2 separate regions of the Homo sapiens genome follow, and region 1 is linked to region 2. Evidence: promoter capture Hi-C in human tissues and cell types (Jung and others, 2019). All regions are on one chromosome and are shown on one strand. Each heading gives the region's core, a stretch centred on a gene start or on the middle of the fragment in contact. The rest is flanking DNA. Distances are from core to core; before and after follow the strand shown. Region 1 overlaps ZC2HC1B (zinc finger C2HC-type containing 1B). Region 2 holds the start of FUCA2 (alpha-L-fucosidase 2).

The links. The method cuts DNA at HindIII sites, captures the fragments that hold promoters and counts their contacts. A contact is called where the count stands out against the background at its distance.
Region 1: a contact is called between a fragment that was not itself captured here and the fragment with the promoter of FUCA2 in region 2, in 1 of the 25 tissues and cell types used here (H1 embryonic stem cells).

The regions. Positions count from the first base shown.
Region 1 is chr6:143,923,131-143,926,742 of GRCh38, reverse strand. The region is part of intron 6 of ZC2HC1B (zinc finger C2HC-type containing 1B); the gene reads right to left. Among named protein-coding and RNA genes, the nearest start is that of ZC2HC1B, 60 kb to the right of the region's middle. The HindIII fragment of the contact is 7,370 bases long and covers 1-3,612 here.
Region 2 is chr6:143,509,991-143,514,159 of GRCh38, reverse strand. It overlaps FUCA2 (alpha-L-fucosidase 2), which reads left to right and starts at 2,440. Exons shown (of 7, transcript NM_032020.5): 1 at 2,440-2,749. The coding sequence starts at 2,526. LOC105378035 (a long non-coding RNA gene) reads right to left here and starts at 2,375. Exons shown (of 4, transcript XR_007059796.1): 1 at 1,384-2,375; 2 at 1-1,166. RefSeq lists enhancers at 1,480-2,140, 2,162-2,341, 2,452-2,581, 2,141-2,803 and a silencer at 3,004-3,207. The HindIII fragment of the contact is 5,068 bases long and covers 1,172-4,169 here.

The DNA of each region.
Region 1 (3,612 bases), core at 59-2,558, 410 kb before region 2:
AGACTCCAATACAATAATAGTTGAAGACTTCAACACCCTACTCTCTATATTAGACAGATCGTCAAGACAGAAAATCATCAAAGGAACATTAGATTTAAATTGCACTTCAGATCAACGTACCTAAAAGACATGCATGGAATATTTTATCCAATAGCAACAGAATATACATTCTTCTCATCAACACATGGAACATTCTCTAGTATAGACCATATGCTAGGCCACGAAGCAAGTCTAAATTTAAAAAAAAAATCAAAATCATATCAAATACCTTTCAGATCACAATAGGATAAAACTAGAAATCAATAACAACAGGAACTTTGGAAACTATACAAATACATGGAAATTAAATAACATGCTTAACAGCCATTGGGTCAATGAAGAAGACAGAAGGAAATAAACGTCTTGAGACAAATGAGAATGGAAACACAACATATCAAAACCCATGGGATGTAGCAAAAGAAGTGCTAAGAGGGAATTTCATAGCAATAAATGCGTATATCAAGAAGTAGAAACATTTCAAATAATCAAGCTAAGGATGCCCCCTCAATAACTAGAAAAGCAAGAGCAGACCAAATCCAAAATTAGCGGAAGGAAAGAAACAATAAAGATCAGAGCAGAACTAAATGTAATAGAGACTTTAAAAAAAAATACAAAGGTCAATGGAATGAAAAGTTAGTTTTTTGAAAAGATAAACAAAATTGATAAATCACTAGCTAGACTAACCAAGAAAATAAGAGAGAGGATGTGAATTAGCAAAATCACAAACAAAAAGGGAGACATTACAACTGATACCACAGAAATACAAGAAATCATCAGAGACTTATAAAGAACTATATGCTAACAAATTAGAAAAGCTAGAGGAAATGGATAAATTCCTGGACACATACAATCTACTAAGAATAAATCAGGGCTGGGCACCGTGGCTCATGCCTGTAATCCCAGCACTTTGGGAGGCCAAGGTGGGCTTCCTGAGGTCAGGAGTTCGAGACCAGCCTGACCAACATGGAGAAACCCCATCTCTACTAAAAATACAAAAAAATTAGCCTGGTGTGATGGCGCATGCCTATAATCCCAGCTACTCGGGAGACTGAGGCAGGAGAATTGCTTGAGCACGGGAGGCGGAGGTTGCGGCGAGACGAGATCGCGCCACTACACTTCAGCCTGGGCAACAAGAGCGAAACTCCGTCTCAAAAAAAAAAAAAAAAAGAAAAGAAAAGAATGAATAAGGAAGAAAGAGAAAACCTGAATAGACCAATAACAAGTAATGGGCTGGGAGCAGTGGCTCACACCTGTAATCTCAGCACTTTGGGAGGCCGTAGGCAGGCGGATCACGAAGTCAGGAGATCGAGACCATCCTGGCTAACAAAGTGAAACCCCGTCTCTACTAAAAATACAAAAAATTAGCCAGGCATGGTGGCGGGTGCCTATACTCCCAGCTGCTCGGGAGGCTGACGCAGGAGAATGGCGTGAACCCGGGAGGCGGAGCTTGCAGTGAGGGGAGATCGCACCACTGCACTCCAGCCTGGGCGACAGAGTGAGACTCTGTCTCAAAAAAAAAAAAAAAAAAAAAAAAAAAAGGAATGAGATTGAATCAGTAATAAAAAGTCTCCCAACAAAGAAAAGCTCAGCACCGGATGTCTTTACTTCCAAATGCTATCAAACTTGTAAAGAAAAACTAACACATATTCTTCTCAAACTATTTCAGAAAATTCAAAGGAGGAAATTCTTCCTTACTCATTCTGTGAGGCCAGTATTACCCTGATACCAAAACCAGACAAGGACATAATGGAAATAGAAAACTACAGGCCAATACCCCTGATGAACACAGACACAAAAAAGCTTCAACAAAATACTAGCAAAGTGAATCCAACAGCACCATAAAAGGATAATACATCAGATGAAAGGATGGTTCCACCCATGCAAGTCAATAAATGTGATACCTCACAACAACAGAATGAAAGACAAAAACAATATGATCATTTCAAGAGACAGAGAAAAGGAATTTTATAAAATTCAACTTCTTTTCATGATTAAAACTCTTAACAAATTAGGCATAGAAGAAACATGCCTCAGCATAGTAAAGGTCATATCTGACAAATGCATAGCTAACATAATACTGAGTGGGGAGAAGCTGAAAGACCTGTAACAAGACATTGGATACCCAGTTCCACCACTTCATTTTTATTATTTATTTAGAGATAGGGTCATCACTTTTATTCAACATAGTACTGGAAGTCCTTGCCAGAGCAATCAGGCAAGAGAAATAAATAAATGTCATCTAAATTGGAATAGAGGAAGTCAAACTGTCCCTCTTTGTAGATAACATGGATATATGTGTGTGTGTGTATTATATATACATGGATATATATATGTAATACATATATATATATATAAAACCTAAAGACTCCACCAAAAACACTCCTAGAATAAATGAATTTAGTAAAATTGCAGGATACAAAATCAACATATAAAAATCAGCAGCATTTCTATGTGCCAATAATAAACTGGCTAAAAAAGAAAACAATCTCATTTACAATAGCTACAAAAAATAAAATACTTAGGAATAAATTAAACCAAGAAAGTGAAAGACGCTTACGAGGAAAACTTCAAAACACTGATGAAAGAATGTTAAGAGGACACAAACAAATGGAAAGATATCCCATGCTCATGACTCAGAAGAATTACTATTGTTAAAATGACCATACTACCCAAAGCAATCTACAGATTCAATGTAATCCCTATCAAAACACCAATGACATTCTTTATATAAATACAAAAAAATCCTAAAATTTGTATAGAACCATTAAAGAGCTCAAATAGCCATAGTGTTCCTGAGTAAAAAAAAACAAAGCTGGAGGCATCACATACCTGATTTCAAAATATATTAAAAAGCTGTAGTAACTAAAACAGCAAGATATTGGTATAAAAACAGACACATAAACCAATGAAACAGAATAGACACTCCAGGAATACATGCATGTATTTACAGCTAACTGATTTTCAACAAAGCCATTAAGAATATAAATTGGGGAAAGGCATCCTCTTCAATAATGGTACAGGGAAAACTGGATATCCAAGTACAGAAAAATGAAACTAGATCCCTATGTCTCACAATATACAAAAATCAACCCAAAATTGATGAAAGACTTAAACATAAGACCCAAAACTATGAAACTACTAGAAGAAAATAGGGAAAATGCTCTCAGACATTGGTCTAGGCAAAAAATTTGTGGCCATGACTTCAAAAGCACAGGCAACAAAAATAAAATAAACAAATGGGACTATATAAACTAAAAAGCTTCTATGCAGCAAAGGAAGCAATCAACAGAGTGAGAAGGACAACATGCTAAATAGGAGAAAATATTTGCAAACCATTCATCTCCCAAGGAACTAATATTCAGAATAAGCAAGGAACTCAAACAACTTTTTGTGTTTTTTATCTAACACAACACATATACCTGAGGAATTCAAACAACTTAACAGCAAAAAAACTAATAATCCCATGAAAAAGTGGGCAAAGGATCTGAGTAGGCATTTCTCAAAAGAAGACATACCTCTCTCACCCCTGGTTACAGGGAAAAAAAAAAGGACTTAAAAATGGACAACAGGTAT
Region 2 (4,169 bases), core at 1,191-3,690:
TTACACAAACTTCTGATTAGAGAGGATGTCAAGGCATAGTGGCTGAGAAGCCCATATTTTTGTTCAAGTGTGCCCCAGGGTTCAGTGGCCACTGAGGCCCTAGATCATTCTGGGTTCCACAAACTCAATAATAAATATTTGTCAGCCCAGGCACCGTGGCTCATGCCTGTAATCCCAGCACTTTGAGAGGCTGAGGCAGGAGGATGACTTGAGATCAGGGGTTCAAAACCAGCCTTGCCAACATGGTGAAAATACAAAAGTTAGCTGGAGGTTGGGGTCTGTAATCCCAGCTACTCGGGAGGCTGAGACACGATAATTGCTTGAATCCCCGGGGGTGGAGGTGGCAGTGAGTCAACACTGTGCCACTGCACTCCAGCCTGGGCAACAGAACCAGACTCTGTCTCAAATAAAAAAAAATTGTCATCTTTATCACAAACTGGAGCTATTGCAATTGGATTCGTTGAGCCCTTTCCTCTAGAACACCCTCACTGTAAAAAAACAAAACAAAATTGGGGACTCTTACGGTGGAGCTGTGGCCCCGGGGGGCCATCTGGCATGTCATGGAGAGGAAAAATGCCCCTACACCTGCAGTGACAGCGCCCTCTGCTGCTCCCATCTCTCTGCAGAGATGGGTTGGGATAATGCAGGCAACAGCCACTTAGTGTCAAGTTCTTCACTCAATAATTAGAACCCCAGTTCACTGGAGAGCTTCAACAAACATTTTGAGTGCTGCTTTTCTGCTGTAATTGTAGGCACTACAGAAAAGAAGGTCATTATGAATGCCCTCAAAAAGCTCACAGTCTGATGGGAAATCAGACCTGTACCACCTAGCTACTAGAGGATGCGTGAAATCCTATGTGTGCTTGGAAGGAGGTGTTATGAAGCAGATCAGGGAAAGTACAACATTCTGGGAGGGAAGGGTGGTGGCAGAAAGCTTCACAAAAGAAGCAGCATTTGAATTGGCTCATTGAAGGGTAATGATTTCATGGGGGCAGAAGCAGTTGAGGATTCTGGCTTTACTTTGAAAACACTTACGAGGTGGAGGAGAGGCTGGGCTTGGTGGCTCATGCCTGTAATTCTAGCACTTTGGGAGGCCAAGGCGGGCAGATCACCTGAGGTCAAGAGTTTGAGACCAGCTTGTCCAACATGGTGAAACCCTGTCTCTACTAAAAAAGAAAAGAAAAATACAAAAATTAGTCTGGCACAGTGGCATGTGCCTGTAGTCCCAGCTACTCTGGAGGCTGAGGCAGGAGAATCCTTGAACCCGGGAGGCAGAGGCTGCAGTGAGCCTAGATCATGTTACTGCACTCAAGCCTGGGCGAGAGAGCGAGACTCTGTCTCAAAAACAAACAAACAAACAAACAAACAAACAAACAAACAAACCAAACAAGAGGTGGAGGTGATAAGCTTCCCAAATATCCTTTTGATTAATCTTTCCAAGTTGCTGGCCTTTTTTCCCAAGCTTGCAGGTTTCTTAAACATTCATTCCACTGGTTTCACCTGTCTCAGATCATCTCCTTGTTCAATGCAGTGGTTCTCAGGAAAGTTTGGACCACCAATCAGAAACATCACAATTTTGTTTTCTTTCTTTTTTTTTTTTTTTTTGAGATGGAGTCTCACTCTGTAGCCCAGGCTGGAGTGCAGTGGCACCGTCTCTGCTCACTGTAACTGCCTCCCGGGTTCAAGCGATTCTCCTGCCTCAGCCTCCCGAGTAACTGGGACTACAGGCGTCCGCCACCACGTCCCGCTAATTTTTTGTATTTTTAGTAGGGACGGGGTTTCACCGTGTTAGTCAGGATGGTCTCGATCTTCTGACCTTGTGATCCGCCCGCCTCGGCCTCCCAAAGTGTTGGGATTACAGGAGTGAGCCACCGCGCCCGGCCCAACATCAGAACATCCTAGAAGTAGGAACTGGGTAGAAACGCAAATTCTTGGGCCCCAACCTAACTGCTGAATCTGAAGCTCTTGGAATTTCATCTGATACAAATTCAAGGTTGACAACCACGGTTCTAACATGCAGGATCTTGGGAGCTGATACAGAGGCCGAGAAGGATCTAGGTTGCTTTCCATGTTCCATCATGGCGAGACCCGGCTGAAGTTCCTGCCTTGACCTTCTCGTGCACGCTTCGGACGTGTGGAGCAGCCACCAGGGTGGGCTGGGGGCATTGTCTTCTTGGGCAGTTTCTTGGTCAGGGTCGTGTCTGCTTGAGGGCAGAGGCGCTGGCCACAAGGCCCTGACTCAGACTCATATTTTCCCCTCAAGAGGACAGAGCCTTAGCAAAGCCGTCCCAGCTGGCTTTGGGGTAATGCTGGCCTTAGTTATGCTGAGCGATGCAGCCCTCCTGAGGTCATTCGGAACGCCCGGGAGAGTGGCCACTCCCGCCCCAGAGGGGGAAGGGTGGCCGGTTTCCAAGTCCGACTTGGTCAGGTGACCGCGGCGCGGCATACTCAGCGGCAGAGACGGAAGAACAGCGCTCCCGAGGCCGCGGGAGCCTGCAGAGAGGACAGCCGGCCTGCGCCGGGACATGCGGCCCCAGGAGCTCCCCAGGCTCGCGTTCCCGTTGCTGCTGTTGCTGTTGCTGCTGCTGCCGCCGCCGCCGTGCCCTGCCCACAGCGCCACGCGCTTCGACCCCACCTGGGAGTCCCTGGACGCCCGCCAGCTGCCCGCGTGGTTTGACCAGGCCAAGTTCGGCATCTTCATCCACTGGGGAGTGTTTTCCGTGCCCAGCTTCGGTAGCGAGTGGTTCTGGTGAGTGCGCTCCCTTTTGTCTCGTCTGCCGCGCTTTTGTCCCCACCCGCAGCCTCCAGCCACCACCCAGCGGGCCTGGTTCGCCGCCTGGTGCTGCCTGCACCCTCGTCGGTTTCACCTCCCACTGCGTTACCCGCGTTTCGCACTTCCGGGTGTCGAATATGTGGTTTCCTGCCTAAGTGCTTCTGCTGGATGAACAGGGAATTTTTCTTCCGTGTGACTGTAAGAGTTTTCAGATACTCCTGACTCCTCAGCTTCTTCATAGTTGCGCATATTAAGCTGTAGTTATGACACTACAACATCGAGCTACTACAGACATTCATCAGTTTGTGCAGGGGCATCACACGAGCGGTGACTCAGGCACAATGGCCTATGGTTGCTCTGCTGCTACCTGCCAATTTACAGTCGTTCTGCCATGAAGTTATGGTTAAAACATAGTCATGAGTATGTGAAACGACTGTTCATTGAACACCATTGGCTACTTAATGTTAACATGTTACCCATGTGTGGCTCTAGGAACTTTTTAAAGAGGTTCTAGAATGGTACTCTTAACACAACCCAGTTATCATACTGCCGTATGAAAGGTGCTACACAAAAATCTGTGCGTTAGATTTTACCTTGAGATCTATGTGAAAATGTGCATGTAATTTCTTAAACTGTTGCACATGTCTTTTCTGACTAAATGCTACAAGTATTAAGTCCTTCAAAACAGAAATATTTTGTGTGCATATATAGAAACATACACATAATATATTCTTTTTTTTTTTTTTTTGAGACATAGTCTCATTCTGTCACCCAGGCTGGAGTGCAGTGGCACCATCTCGGCTCACTGCAACCTTCGCCGCCCGGGTTCAAACGATTCTCGCGCCTTAGCCTCCTGAGTAGCTGGGACTACAGGCGCACGCCACCATGCCTGGCCAATTTTTTTGTATTTTTTAGTAGAAACGGGGTTTTGCCATGTTAGCCAGGCTGGTCTTGAACTCCTGACCTCAGGTGATCCGCGGTGGCTCATACCTGTAATTCCAGGACTTTGGGACACATAATATATTCTTAAGTAAAAGAACGGAATCATTAAACAGTATTTATTTGAATCAACTATATACTACATAAATAGTATACATCCAAATTAACATACTATATTTAGTAGACACAATACAGAGTATGAACTATATATTATATTAACATTACATAGTATACATGGTACCATGCTCTACTCTAGGGGTAGAAAAATTACACCTCCATTCTGTTAGGGTCTCTGCTGGGTCCAAGAATTAAATTGACATTGTGTGACTAAATTATGTGGGGAGACTTAAATAATAAATTTTAGCAAGTTCTGTACAGTATTCTACTTCTTGTCTTTGAAGCTTAGGATGTTGCCTTTCCTTCTAGTACAGAGTGCCTTTCATACTGGAATTTCATC